2 separate regions of the Homo sapiens genome follow, and region 2 is linked to region 1. The links are contacts of gene promoters, found by promoter capture Hi-C in human tissues and cell types (Jung and others, 2019). All regions are on one chromosome and are shown on one strand. Each heading gives the region's core, a stretch centred on a gene start or on the middle of the fragment in contact. The rest is flanking DNA. Distances are from core to core; before and after follow the strand shown. Region 1 holds the start of PDE5A (phosphodiesterase 5A). Region 2 overlaps NDNF-AS1 (NDNF antisense RNA 1).

Region 1 (6,636 bases), core at 1,442-3,941:
GGCTGAAGTGCAATGGCACGATCATGGCTCACTGCAGCCTTGACCTCCTGGGCTCAATCCTCTTGCCTCAGCCTCTCGAATAACTAGGATTACAGGTGTGTTCCCCCATGCCTGGCTAATTTTTAAAAATTTTGTGTAGAGATGGGGTCATGCCATGTGGCCCAGGCTGGTTCAAACTCCTGAGCTCAAGTATCCTTCTACCTCTCCCTCCCAAAGTTCTGAGATTACAGGAATGAGCCACTGTGCCCAGCCTATAGATTGTTTTTCTTGAAGCAATTTTTCAGAAACCTTCCTGGTTTCTGATAATTTAACCCTTTCAGGTTAGGAGAGAAAAATGAACATTTTGATATTACCCACTGTCTTAGTCCATTTGTGTTGCTGTAATAAAATATCACAGACTGGGATATTTATAAACAATAGAAATTAATTTCTCTCAGTTCTGGAGGCTGGAAACTCCAAAATCAAAGTGCCAGCAGATTTGGCAACTGGTGAGGGCTGCTCTTTGCTTACAAAATGGCACCTTGTTGCTGCATCCTCAGCAAGGGTCAGTGCTGTGTCTTCACATAGTGGAAAGAATAGAAGGGGCCAACTGTCTCCTTTGGGCCTTTTTTTAAAAAGGCACTAATGCATTCACAAAGGCAGAGCCCTAATGGTCTAATCACCACTTAAAGGCACCTCCTCTTAATACTGTTGAATTAGGGATTAAGTTTCAACATGAATTTTGGAGGGAATACAAACATTGAAATGATTATACGTGTTTATTTAATCAAGTATCCAACAAAAGCAAATAATTCAAGCCCCAAATTCACTGCATCTTTAGTAGATAAGCAGAGTTTTAAATTACGATTGATCTCCTGTTAGGAGGAATGCATGGATTTCCACAAGAAAAAACTGTACTGAGGAGAAACTTTCCACAGTAATGTGCCACTTTTCAGTCAACGACAGACCACATATATGAGTCCCATAAGATAATACTATATTTTTACTGTACCTTTTCTATGTTTAGATATGTTTAGACACACAAATATCATTGCATTACAATTGCCTACAGTATTCAGTACAGTAATATGCTGTATAGATTTGTGGTCTAGGAGCAATAGCCTAAGTGTGTAGTAGGCTGAGCCATCTATTTTGTGTTAGTACACTGTGATGTTCAGAGAAGGATGAAATTGCCTAAGGATACATTTCTCAGAATGTATCCTGTTGTTCGGTGACGCATGACTGTATTCCATGAGCACTATAATCACTATCATAGTAACACATTAGGAGAGAATTCTCATTTCTAAATCCAATATAATTTATCACCCATTAGTTCATACTCTACTGCTTTGATTGCTTTTCTTTGGTTGTGGCTACCTGCATACAGCAGTAAAGTTTCAGAAAAACTGAAGTCGCAAAAGGTCAATTACTCAATGAAGGAAAGATAAACCATTGCATTGGGGGACTAGAAGATACTTTTAAAAGTTCTCAGATTATCAATTTAATGATGTGTTTCTATGTAGTGAATAATGCCTTAAATTCTTGCCAAGAGTATTTAGAAGGAAGTTGTCAGAAGTATATCAGCTAACTCATTTTTTTTTATATCACTGCTAATGGTGTCATTCACACATTGTGCAACCCATAATTCCAGATTTAATTCTACCAAAAAATATAGGTCATTGCAAAATGCCATATTAAAACTGCCAATGCATGACAGGAAGATGGGGATGCAGACAAAGCAAAGGATGACACCAATTCCTTTTTTAAAGAAGCAAGATAGGGATTGGACAAAAAGGCTGAGCCATTTTTAATGGATACTTTTGAGGGAGTGTTAATTCCAATTTAATTAAAATGATGCATTAATTTAAAATTGGGATAACTGGTTGCCCTCGACTGCACCTGGGTTGCGCCAGTGCTCTCGGATTAACCTAATTGTACAGAGGTGCCCTTGTTTTCTAACTTCATGCACAAAGCATTGGAAATTATTTGTTTGCTTTTTCTTTTCCAAGTAAATCTTTTTCCAGTTATGCATAAGGGAAGTTTGAGGCAATGGTTAAAGGCACTTAAGTTATAATTATTGCTGTTATCATTAACATTAAGCACGGGTATGGCTTTGTTGCAAGTTACCCACCTACACCTGCAAATCTCTCTTGCTAGCACACGCCCCAGCTCTCTCCACCCGCAGTGGTCCGTGGCTGGACCGCTTTAAGTCACTGAGCGGGCTGGGCTCTGAAGGAGGTCGGTCCCGCTCCTCCCAGACCCAAGCGTAGGGCTAGGGAAAAGCTAGGCGGGAAGGTCATTGCACTCCCAGGCCCCAGGAAAAGGGCCCAGGGTCTCATCATCTCTTACTTTCGGGCAAAACTTCCCACATCGCGACCTTCCCTCCCTGGGGCACTCTGAGAACACACCCAGTCACCTAGCGCGCTCCCCAGAAGTCGGCTTGGCACACAGCGCACCCCAGCGGCCGCGCGGCCTCCTTCCAGCCGCCGCCACTTGGCTTCCGGAGAGCTCGCCGGGCGCTGCCGCTGCCGCCGCCGCCGCCGCCTCCTGGGAACCAGGGGACTGAAGAGCCTGCGAGAGCGGAACACTGCCGGACCCCGGGTGGGGGGGGCGCAGCAGCTGCGCCTGGCCCCGCCCACCACACCTGGGCGCCCGTAGAACCGCGCGGGGCGGGGCGGGGCAGGAGGCTGGCCTGGCGCTCCGGCCGCTTTGTCGAAAGCCGGCCCGACTGGAGCAGGACGAAGGGGGAGGGTCTCGAGGCCGAGTCCTGTTCTTCTGAGGGACGGACCCCAGCTGGGGTGGAAAAGCAGTACCAGAGAGCCTCCGAGGCGCGCGGTGCCAACCATGGAGCGGGCCGGCCCCAGCTTCGGGCAGCAGCGACAGCAGCAGCAGCCCCAGCAGCAGAAGCAGCAGCAGAGGGATCAGGACTCGGTCGAAGCATGGCTGGACGATCACTGGGACTTTACCTTCTCATACTTTGTTAGAAAAGCCACCAGGTAAGAAGAGGACCCACGGAAGACCCGGGGCTGATTTCTCTCCCCTGTTGAATTGTGCCCTTCGTTCACCCCTGTTCCCAGGCCCTTTGCTTTTGAAGTAGGTCCTCGGTCCTGTTACGAGGTAGAAACCTCAACTCTAAGCGAGCACAGTCGAAAAACTCAAGTGTCGGATTTGATACAACTTGCTCACAAAGTTCAAATACAAAAATGTACTTGCCGACCTCCCACCCTCACCCCCGACCCTCTTGGTATTCCCCGGGAACATGATTATTTTCATACATCCGTGCTCACGGGCCTTCCCCTAGCCCCTCTCTAGCCCTCTGGTTCCCCAAAATCCAATCAGCAAAACCCAAACAGTTTCTGAGCCCCTTCCCTGCAGCTCCGGAAGCACCATTTCCAAGTCGGTCTTGATGGCTCCGCTCCTCCCCCGTCCCCCCTCGCCCTGGCCCTGGCTGGGCGGGGAAGCTGGGGTGAGGGACGAGTCCACGGGACAGCCCAAAGGCAACATGACGGAACCTTGCCAAAGTGAGTGCGGTTGCCTTTTCCCCCCTTCCAGTCTCCTGCTTGTCCCGCGCGCCTCCTTTCACTCGCTTTTCCGCCGAAGGCTGTGCCGCCAAAAGTAGAGCTCTGCAGAGGGGTTTGCGGCGTGCACACAAAGGGCGCAGGGGAGGCGCCGCCTGGAGCGGACCCCAAGGGGCAGCGCAGACCCCAGAGGCCAGCTCTTTCTGGTCCAGAGCCAAGCGCCGGGGCGGCCCTTGCGGAGGGCGGGGAGGAGGGAGCCTGTCCTTTTGGAGGCGGCTGCGCAGCGGGCAGTCGGGGCGCTCGTGGGAAACGCTCGCGGGAGAGTTGGGGAGGAATTGAGACTGGGAGCAGAGGGACAAGAAGAGTGGAGCAGAGAGTGCTTGGCGGGCGGGTGCCCCGAAGCCTGAGGAATTGATGCATAGTCGGGGTGCGTGGACTCCAGGACGCGCCCCTTTGCAGAAAGAGTCCGTGCCCCGCTGCCGCCTGCTCTGGGCAGCGGCCGTCGGGCAGCGGGTGCTGGCCGTCTTGGCCGGGAGGGTGACACACGCCCGGCAGTGATGGTCGAGGAGCCCGCCCGGGTTCGACGCCCGGGTCCCACTCGCCGGCGCGCGGCCGCGGCTCTGCCGGTCGCTCCCCGCCAGGGGGCGGCGCAGCGCGGGGCGAGCGGGAGGCGACGGGCGGCGGCGCGGAGGCCGGGGCCGTGAGGGAGCTGGTTCTGAGTCGCCGACCTCACCTCACCTCACCTGCGCGCGTTGTTGCCCCTACGGAGCCTCCTGGAGTCCAGGATCGGCGGAGTTCGAAAACGAACTTCCCACGTTTGCTATGTTGCCCTTTGGAGACAAAACAAGGTACTTCCTTCAGCATCCCCCTACGTCCCTTCCCACTTTTTCCGGGGGCGCGGCGGGTCTCGGGTGCTGGGTGGTGGCGCCCCGGTGGCACCAGTGGGACGATGTATCATTGAAAATTGACTGTATAACTTTTGTTGTTGTTGTTATTCTTTGCTCTCTTGCAGATGTATTAATAAGGGTCTTAAATTGGGCCCTTTTTAATCTTGTTTTGTTTTGTTTTGTTTTGTTTTTTTCCTAAGGAACATCCAGAGTTGGTGTCAATTTAGTCACTTTCAGGGTTTTTTGACAGAGGGGAAGGCTCCGGGATTAATCTTTTCAATTTAATAACCCAGCCCTTCTTTTAAAATCGTCTTCCCCCGCTTTCACCTTCTTCCTTCAAAATCCTAAATCTTGAGCGCCCAGAGGATAGCCCTGAAAGGGCACTTTTTTGCGAGTTTAGCGTGAGACACTAAGGCCATGGAGGTCTAGAATGATCGGTTGCTGTCGACTAACAGTTTTCAGGGGTCACCTGCCCCTCTGAGGCCATCTGCACCCACTTTCCTTTCACTCTGCGCATTCCCAGCCTTCTGCTCTCCTTGAATTACAGCGCATAGAATGATCAGGGGGCCAGAGAACCAGGCCGATTTTTAAAAGTATGTATTGGACCTGTTCTTTAGGCAGATTATAAACAGTTTAAAGAAAAAAAGTTATTGTTTAATAAATCAGCATAAATGTCCTTTCTTCGTTCCCTATTTTTCTTTTAAAGATGTAAACTAGGGATGGCTTGTTGGTCGTTTTTGACTAGTCATAGATAGGAACACTGCATTTTCAGAACCTACCAACACTTTGAAAGTGTAGCAACATTTTAATGGAAAATAAATGGAAAGAGCTGAGTTACATTTCTTTTCCCATTACTTTTTCTCCCAAGCAGCATAGGATCAAAATCCTATTTCTCAAATTTACCATGCTCACTGTAAAATTTAGATCATCTGAGGCTCTAAAAAAACTTTTAAAAAATTTTCGGTTAGAGTTTTTAAATTACAGTTGATGTTGGCAACAGGCTGAACACTTTCTGTGATATATATATGTATGTGTGTATACATATTCTTAAGAGGTTATGTTGAGTGTAAGTTGGAAAATGAAAGTGTAAAATATTTAATAGTGCAGGTCCTCAATTTTAAGAGTTATAATAAAGTGCTGAGAGTTGTCAGAGTAAAGAATATAACCTAAGAATTTGTGTGTAGCCAGAGGTCTTTCATGAAACAATATTCCAATTTGGTTTTATATTTGGTGGCATTAACAGGAGACTTAAAATGTGAATAAGAGGATGGACATTTGTTGATTATAAAAATGCAAACCACTAACCCCAGTGTGGTTCACATTTTGTGGTAAAAACTTATTGCATACGTTTTAACTTTACAGCTAAGGATTTTTTTTTTTAAAAGTAGGAGCTCACATTACTTTGCTTTTCCCCTCTTTTTACACTTTGTAAGTGTAAAATGAATATTGTATGTGATTCAGGAAACCCATGAAACAAAATAGTTCTGTAGATGCATGCGGCATGTTTTAAGATTTAAAATATATTTATATTCACCCAGATCGTCCATCTGCACCAGTAATCAGGCTTGCTGATAAAAACAATTTCTGCATTATTGTTGTCATTCGACATTCATGCATGATTTTCCATCCTTTTCTCAGACTAAATGATCTACACTCAATGGTAGTTATTGAACATCAAGGTTCTGGCATTCCTAAATTCTCAAACACCTGTGAATTTGGGTTGACCTTGAAAGCATTTATGCCATTATATTACATTGTTTACTATCACTGTCTTCAAGTAGAGAGCTACGCATCTTATTAAAAGCTATAGGTTGGGCCTGGCACGGTGGCTCATGCCTGTAATCCCAGCACTTTGGGAGGCCGAGGCGGGCAGATCACGACGTCAGGAGTTCAAGACCAGCCTGACTGACCAACATGGTGAAACCCCGTCTCTACTAAAAATACAAAAATTAGCCAGGTATGGCGCGCGCCTGTAATCCCAGCTACTAAGGAGAATCGCTTGAACCCGGGAGGCAGAGGTTGCAGTGAGCCAAGATTGCTCCACTATACTCCAGCCTGGGCAACAGAGTGAGACTCCATCTCAAAAAAAAAAAAAAAAAGCTATAACTTGGAGCTTTTTAGTTATCACAACCTGTTTATGTCCATTTGAAGGTGTCAATTGAATGATTCAGAACATAGTCGGTTGGCATAAAAATTAATTTGAGGCCAATAAATCACATCTGGAAAACTCCCAGGTCACTATTGTAGACAAT
Region 2 (6,636 bases), core at 3,023-5,522, 1.5 Mb before region 1:
TTTAACTTTTTCCTTTCCAATTCAGATGCCACTTATTTATTTTTCTTGTCTAATGGCCGTGGCTAGAATTTCCAGTACTAGGTTAAATAAAAGGGTTAGACTAGGCATCCTTATCTTGTTTCTTATCTTAGAGAAAAAGTTTTCAGTTTTTCAGCATTGAGTATGATGTTAGCTGTAGCTTTGTCATAAATGGCCTTTATTTTGTTGAGGTGCATTCCTAATACCTAATTTGTTGAGCATTTTATCATGACAGGATGTTGGATTTCATCAAATGCTTTTGCTACATCTATTGAGATGACCATATGGTTTTTTATTCTTTATTCTGTTAATGTGTTGTATCACATTTATTGCTTTGTATATGTTGAGCTATCCTTGCATCCCAGGGATAATTCCCATTTGATCATGGTTTATAATCCTTTTCCTGTGCTGTTGAATTTGCTTTGCTTGAATTTTACTGAGGGCTTTTACATCTGTGTTCATCAAAAATATCAGCCTATACTTTTCTGGCAGTACCTTTGTCTGGCTTTGGTATCAGAGTAATGCTGGCCTCATAAAATGAATTTGGAAATGTTACCTCCTGTTCAATTTTTTGGAAGACTTTGAGAAGGATTGGCATTAATTCTTCTTTAAATGTTTGGTAGAATCTTTAGTCACTTTATGAATGAAATTTCACCAATAAGAATAAAGCCAATCTAAAAATTTGAATTTCTTTTATACAGGAAACAATATGTATTTTGTTTCCTGTATAAAAGAAGAGAGAAACCATATCTGTTATCTAAACAGAGAGAGTTTTATATAACCAATTATCAAAAACTAAAAGCAAATGGGAACAGAGGTAGCAACTGAGAAAGCAATTACAATCCCTGTCCTGGAGCACAAAGGGAAGAGGTGGAATTGTCAAAACCTAGAAACTTAGAGTTAGAACCATGGACGGGCTCTGTGGAGCTGAAACTGGTATCTGAGGAAGAGGCCCTGAGTAGGCTAGTGTTACTGCCTTCGAGCTGCAAAACAAACTTCTACCTCGAGGACAGGGCACTGGTAAATTGGCACCGACGTCTCTGAGGGACTGTGATGAAGCTAGTTCTAAAGCTTGGGAAAACTGTGAACTGGAGTCAACAGCCGCTTCTACAAAATACTGCCACTGCCAAGTAAATAACTATAGCTACATTGAGGGAGACAGGAAGAGGATGCAAAAACAGAAGTAGGAATAAACTAGGAAGCACTGAGGAAGAAATGCATTATTTGTCTCTCCTCCACCTTTGCATTCTCCCTCCATAATCGCTGACTGGCAGAGCCTAACAGGAGCAGCTGGCAAAACAGAAATGTGTTTTGTAGAGTTTATCCCCAACACCACAAAGCAGGGTAGGGAGAAGCGCATTAAAAATTAAGTGAAAATAGCTTAACCCTGGGCACAAAATGTTACATAAAATTCAAAAGGGAACCTCATACATGTTCAGATTTTGAAAAAACAGGTGAACAAACAGAAAAAAAAAACCTGAACCCTAGCAATGAGACAAAAAAATGAAAAGTTCTACGTTGTTTTAGAGAGACCTGTGAACTTTCCCATTTCTTAAAACATTGGTTAATGGAATGTTGACATTATTGTCTTGTATACTTTTGAGGGAACAACAATATGCTAGAAGAGTTAAACAAAACACTGTCATATTACTTTTATGAAGAATTAATTAAGTGGAATATAAATCATTTCTCCATCTCCACTCTAAAATGGAACTATTCTGCTATCCTAAATGAATTTTTTTTCTGTTCAGATGCTTGAATTAGTCGTTTCACCCATTGAGAGATGCCATACAAAACCAAGAAATTGTGTGTTTTCTTTAGGTTAAAATAAATTAAGATGGCCTTTAATTTGGTTCTTCTCATTCATATTATAAAAATGTTCTAGTTCACATGAACAAAGATAGTACAAGAAACCCACACTAGCCCAGTAGCTGTTTGTGTTTCTGTGAATGTGTATACCTATGTTAGGGTCTAAGAGAAATGAAAGGAAGAATTAAAGTAAAACTGTAGATTTCTTCCTTTTCTATCTGACCTAATTCTGTAAAGCTCAGTTCTACACATATTATATCTTCAAAAGTACATGAAATTGGGGGCATTCCAAATTAACATCACCTCTTTTGAATTATGTCAATGACTGTCTGTTGAGCTTTTGAACATGTAATTATAGAGCTGTGGTGGGTTAAAAATGGCCACAAATTCTTTGCAGTTCCTTTCATCAGGGGTGGAGACTGATTCCTCACCTCTTGAATCTGAACCAGGCTTGTGAGTTGCTTTGTGAGACCAATAAAACGAGACAGAAGTGACAGTGCTCAGCCTCCATACCAGGCCTCAAGAGACCATTTCCTCATCTCTGCACCCCCTTCTCCAGCCCTACCCCATTGCAGGCCTTGGGAAACACTGCCCGTTCCTCTACTGTATTTCTTCCCTCCTTAGAATCTTTCAGGGCTTCCCTCTACTGTGAAGGATAAGACAAGATCCCTCCTGCCTTCCATATTAGCCTAGGAATATCACACTTCCCATGCATGCAAAACAAGAAGAGAATTAGATATTATTTTAGGTGGTTCTATAGCAAATATTTTGTATAATATGTATGAGGTAAAAAAATGTAACCCACACATAAAACAGATATTACTATTTAAGTTGTTAATTTTAAATAAGCTATTTAGTTAAAAGAAGATCTACAGCTTAAACTGAGTAATAGTAGAGGCTGTGTTCAAACACAGAAAACTTTTGGGGAATCCTGCTTTAAGGCAAATTGGTTCAAGTCTCACTTGGTACAAATACACTATCCAATTCACTTTATTTCCTTTCACCAAAAGGATCCCTCTAACTTTAAGATCCACCCTGCTTCAGCTTTCTGTTGCCAGTGAAAAAAATCAAGCAGCTTTTTAAAGCTTTCCTAACTAACTAGTAGCAAGATGGTAATTTTGGAAATATGCTACTCTTACCCCCCATCAATATTATTGTGCTTCTCCATTCTATTCATATTTTCTCATCACACAAGTTGTGGCTTTTTTATGTTAAATATGTATTGTGGTAGAAAATTGCAAAACATTTTCATCTCACTGCTCTGGGAACTTCTCTTTCATCTTCAGCCTTTCCCATTTTTCTATAATTCGTACCCTATGTAGCCCACTTTTCTGGCATTACTTCTAGTTTTAGTGCAGAGTAACATATTGTCCCTTTTTTCCCTTAGATTTCTCAACTCTTCTAGTGCATTTACACTGCTTCTCATTATTTTCTTGCCTTCTTCATCTCTTGCATGCTCTGCCTCCATGCTCTTTACTAATTATCCTTAACCCTCATGATTTTACCTGTCATTATTATCCCACCACTATTTTAAGCCCTAACCACTGTCTCCTTTTCTCTTCACTCTTTTCTCTCCTTTTTCTCCTCTTACTCAATGCCTTTATCCTTCATTTTATTGTGTTTCTTCTACATTGTGACCTGTTGCACTTACCTTGAAATCCAGAGGAGAAGCAAATAGAAGGTTTGTAAATGTGTTGCTGATGTAAAGATAAAGGGAGCCAGACACTTCTAGTGCTTTTGAAGTTCTTTTGGCATTTGAGTCCCACTTGATTTGTGTGACTGATTCCCTTAAGAACATTCTTACTCAAAATAAGTTACAAAAATTCTGGTCTAAAATTGATTGGATATAAGATTATCCTTAGTCTTTGAATGAGACTCTGTTTAACACAAATTACATATTCCTTACAGGTCAGTGTGCAATTTCCCACATAGATAAGGTCTTTGAAAAGTCCTTTCAAAATCAGAGTGATTTTCTCATGTTTTGACAGATGTACAAATGAGTTCTTTTGAGTTTAGTGTTTCAAATGACCTTTGAGTTTCAAGCCTATTTGAATTTTCATTATGTTATTCTCTTCTTCTAATTGCAAAAAAAAAAAAAAAAAAAAAAAAGTCCACCCTCTAAATTTGCAGTTTCTTCAAAATAGGAATTCCCTCAGAGTTTCACTGAGTAGTTTCAGCTAGGCGATTGAAAGTGACAGAATACCACTATGATTATCACATTAATAGAAATTATGGTCTTAGAAATAGAGAGAGCTATGGATAAAATGCTATGGAGACAAAAGAGAAATATTCAAGGCTCTATGTTTGGTTATACTTTTTGGACAAGAAAACATTGAAGGATTACATGGAAGGAATGGAGAGGATTTCGACTGGGTACATTTAAGCTTACATTAGAAAAATTCAAATTTTTCCTTTATAACACCAAGAGTTTTCAGAGTTACATTAGACACTATTGGTATGGAAACTGTTTTCCCAAAATCATTTCAGTGATTCAATTACCATTTATTTTCTAGAAAAAATGGCCCTACTTCTTTTAAATGACCGGAAATAATGCATTTTTTCTACAACAGAGCATAATGAGGGTTGAGAAGTTGCGCCAGAAAATGAGAACAGTCCCTGTTTCTCTTTACAATCCACGTACAGATTTTTGCATTTTATAGTGTAGTGATTCATTTTTGATCTAGTTTTACAATAGAATCTGATTTGGCACAATGAAGTAAATATTAACACATTTCTTTCCTAGATGTGGTATTCAAAAGTAGAAATGTGACAAAATCCAGTGTTAACTGGTCTAATCCAATAAGGAATTTAATACATTTGAGTCTGATAACACACACTGAAAAGCTTAACATAATTTTAAAATAATGCTATTCTACTAAAGTTTTATTTTCTCGAGGGAAATTTTTTTATATGCCAAACTACTAGGAAACAGTTAAAAATGGTTGTTAAGATGACTGGACTTGGCTTATTATTTCTTTCTTCAGTTTATTCTCCACATTTGTGAGTGACTACCTTGAATCCATTTCAAAAGGGGAGGAGCGAGTATAATAGCTGAAAGCACTGCCTGGGTTCAAATTTCTTGGCTAGAAATATGACAAGTTCTGACAGCCTCAGTAGCATCATCTCCAAAATGGGAATTCTAATAATTCCTACTGAAGATTGCTCTCACAAGGACTAATAAGCAGTGAGCGACAACAGCAGGCACTTAGAAACCACTCAATAAATAAGTGATTAAATGGCCAAAAGGTTAAGGTGGAGATTCCCCTCCTTTTTTTTAAAAAAAAAAATAACTAAGTTCTAGGGTTCACAGGTTACTTGTAATAGAAACTGGTTGAATCAAAGGTATATATAATCATATGCCTACTTTTTATGAGCTGCACATGTTGAGAGTTTTAAAAATTGTGTCAGCCCTCCTATTCACTGCTTTTCATAGAGAAGTTAGTTTTTAAAATGTCTTTAGGAAAGGACTCATACTGTGTCAATGACAGAGTTTAAGTGATTTTCAAATAAAAGAGAAGACTCAAGCAGCTAAACCAGTTTGGACTATTCCACCTCCCTCTGGCTTAATCTTTGAGATTTCTGACCTTAGAGGTTTGTGGCTAGAATTGATGGATAGGTACACTTTTGTGAAAACACTACATGTGGTTAGATTTGCTCTTATATGGTGTCAACAAGGAGACACCAAATCAAATTCTGTGGTAAGATCCCTTTTTAAATAATGCCCATTAACATGACAGCAGCAAAAAGGAAAAAAAAAGAATCTGTGAAATTAGTTGATAGAGGCTCCAAGGAATATCCTGGGGCAGCTTGAGTTGGTTCAGAACGCAGGCTTTAGAGTTTGACAGAATGAGACTCCGATCCCTGCTCAGCCACTGATGGCCATAAACCTCCGTTTTCTCATCTGTGAAATGCAAATAATGTCTTTTTCACTGGTTGTTTTTGGAATAAATTTGTAAAGGAAAGAGTTTTTGATTTGTTACATTTTGTCAAACCTGAAATTAATCATTTTGGCCATCCTAACAAGCAAGGTCTAAGTGATTCCTTTTGTTTTATTTTTTCACTTACAAAGTACGGTTTTCTGATTAGGGAGAAGCAATGTTTTATTTGAACAGAAATTGAATCCAGGGAGTAAAAATTGGTGATTATTATATAGGCAATTGTTTAGTGCCTATTATATATCACATGCTTTACATATTAAAAATAGTTTAACCCTAACAATAACCTTATCAGAGAAATTTTATTATCCCCATTTTACAGATGAGGAAACTGAACTTCAGAAAGATTAAATAACTTTCCAAGTTCACACAGTCACAAAGTTATTAAATGTCAGTGCAGGAAACTGTACCCAAGACCTCTGGCTCCGATGTCTGTGTTCTTTCCACTACATCTGATGCCATTCAGCTTCAAAACATTTAAAAAAATAACCAGGCTTTATGTCTGTGTGGCCTTAAGGCTGTATGATATCACTGGCACATAGCTATCAGGAACTTGGGCCAAACTGCTCACATGAAAGAGTGTTCTTCTTTAGCTGTGCCTAAACAAGCCATGGGATGTAGAAAATAAAGCAATTATTAAATGAACTCAAATTATAGGAATGTATTAATCACACAATCTCAAACTCTCTGTTATATTTAAGGATCTATCTCCACCCGTTTCTTTCAGCCCTTTTCATACTCTAGGCTGGCCCAGTATTTTCTCATCTCTCTCTTTATTTTCATGTATGCATAGCTTTAGTACCCTCCCAACACTGCTGCTAGCTTAGGCTTGCATTGACTATCATTGCTACATGATTGATACAGTGCAGGCTCC

What was found. Contacts are between HindIII fragments. The study calls those that stand out against the background at their distance.
Region 2: a fragment that was not itself captured here is called in contact with the fragment with the promoter of PDE5A in region 1 in 1 of the 25 tissues and cell types used here (dorsolateral prefrontal cortex).

Annotation. Positions count from the first base shown.
Region 1 is chr4:119,624,859-119,631,494 of GRCh38, reverse strand. PDE5A (phosphodiesterase 5A) reads left to right here and starts at 2,691. Exons shown (of 21, transcript NM_001083.4): 1 at 2,691-2,975. The coding sequence starts at 2,824. It overlaps LOC107986192 (a long non-coding RNA gene), which reads right to left and starts at 3,705. Exons shown (of 1, transcript NR_165235.1): 1 at 740-3,705. RefSeq lists silencers at 2,358-2,757, 3,978-4,257 and an enhancer at 3,798-3,847. The HindIII fragment of the contact is 10,592 bases long and covers 1-6,636 here.
Region 2 is chr4:121,079,215-121,085,850 of GRCh38, reverse strand. NDNF-AS1 (NDNF antisense RNA 1) reads right to left here. Exons shown (of 3, transcript NR_187407.1): 3 at 4,112-5,728. Among named protein-coding and RNA genes, the nearest start is that of NDNF, 10 kb to the right of the region's middle. The HindIII fragment of the contact is 4,542 bases long and covers 2,002-6,543 here.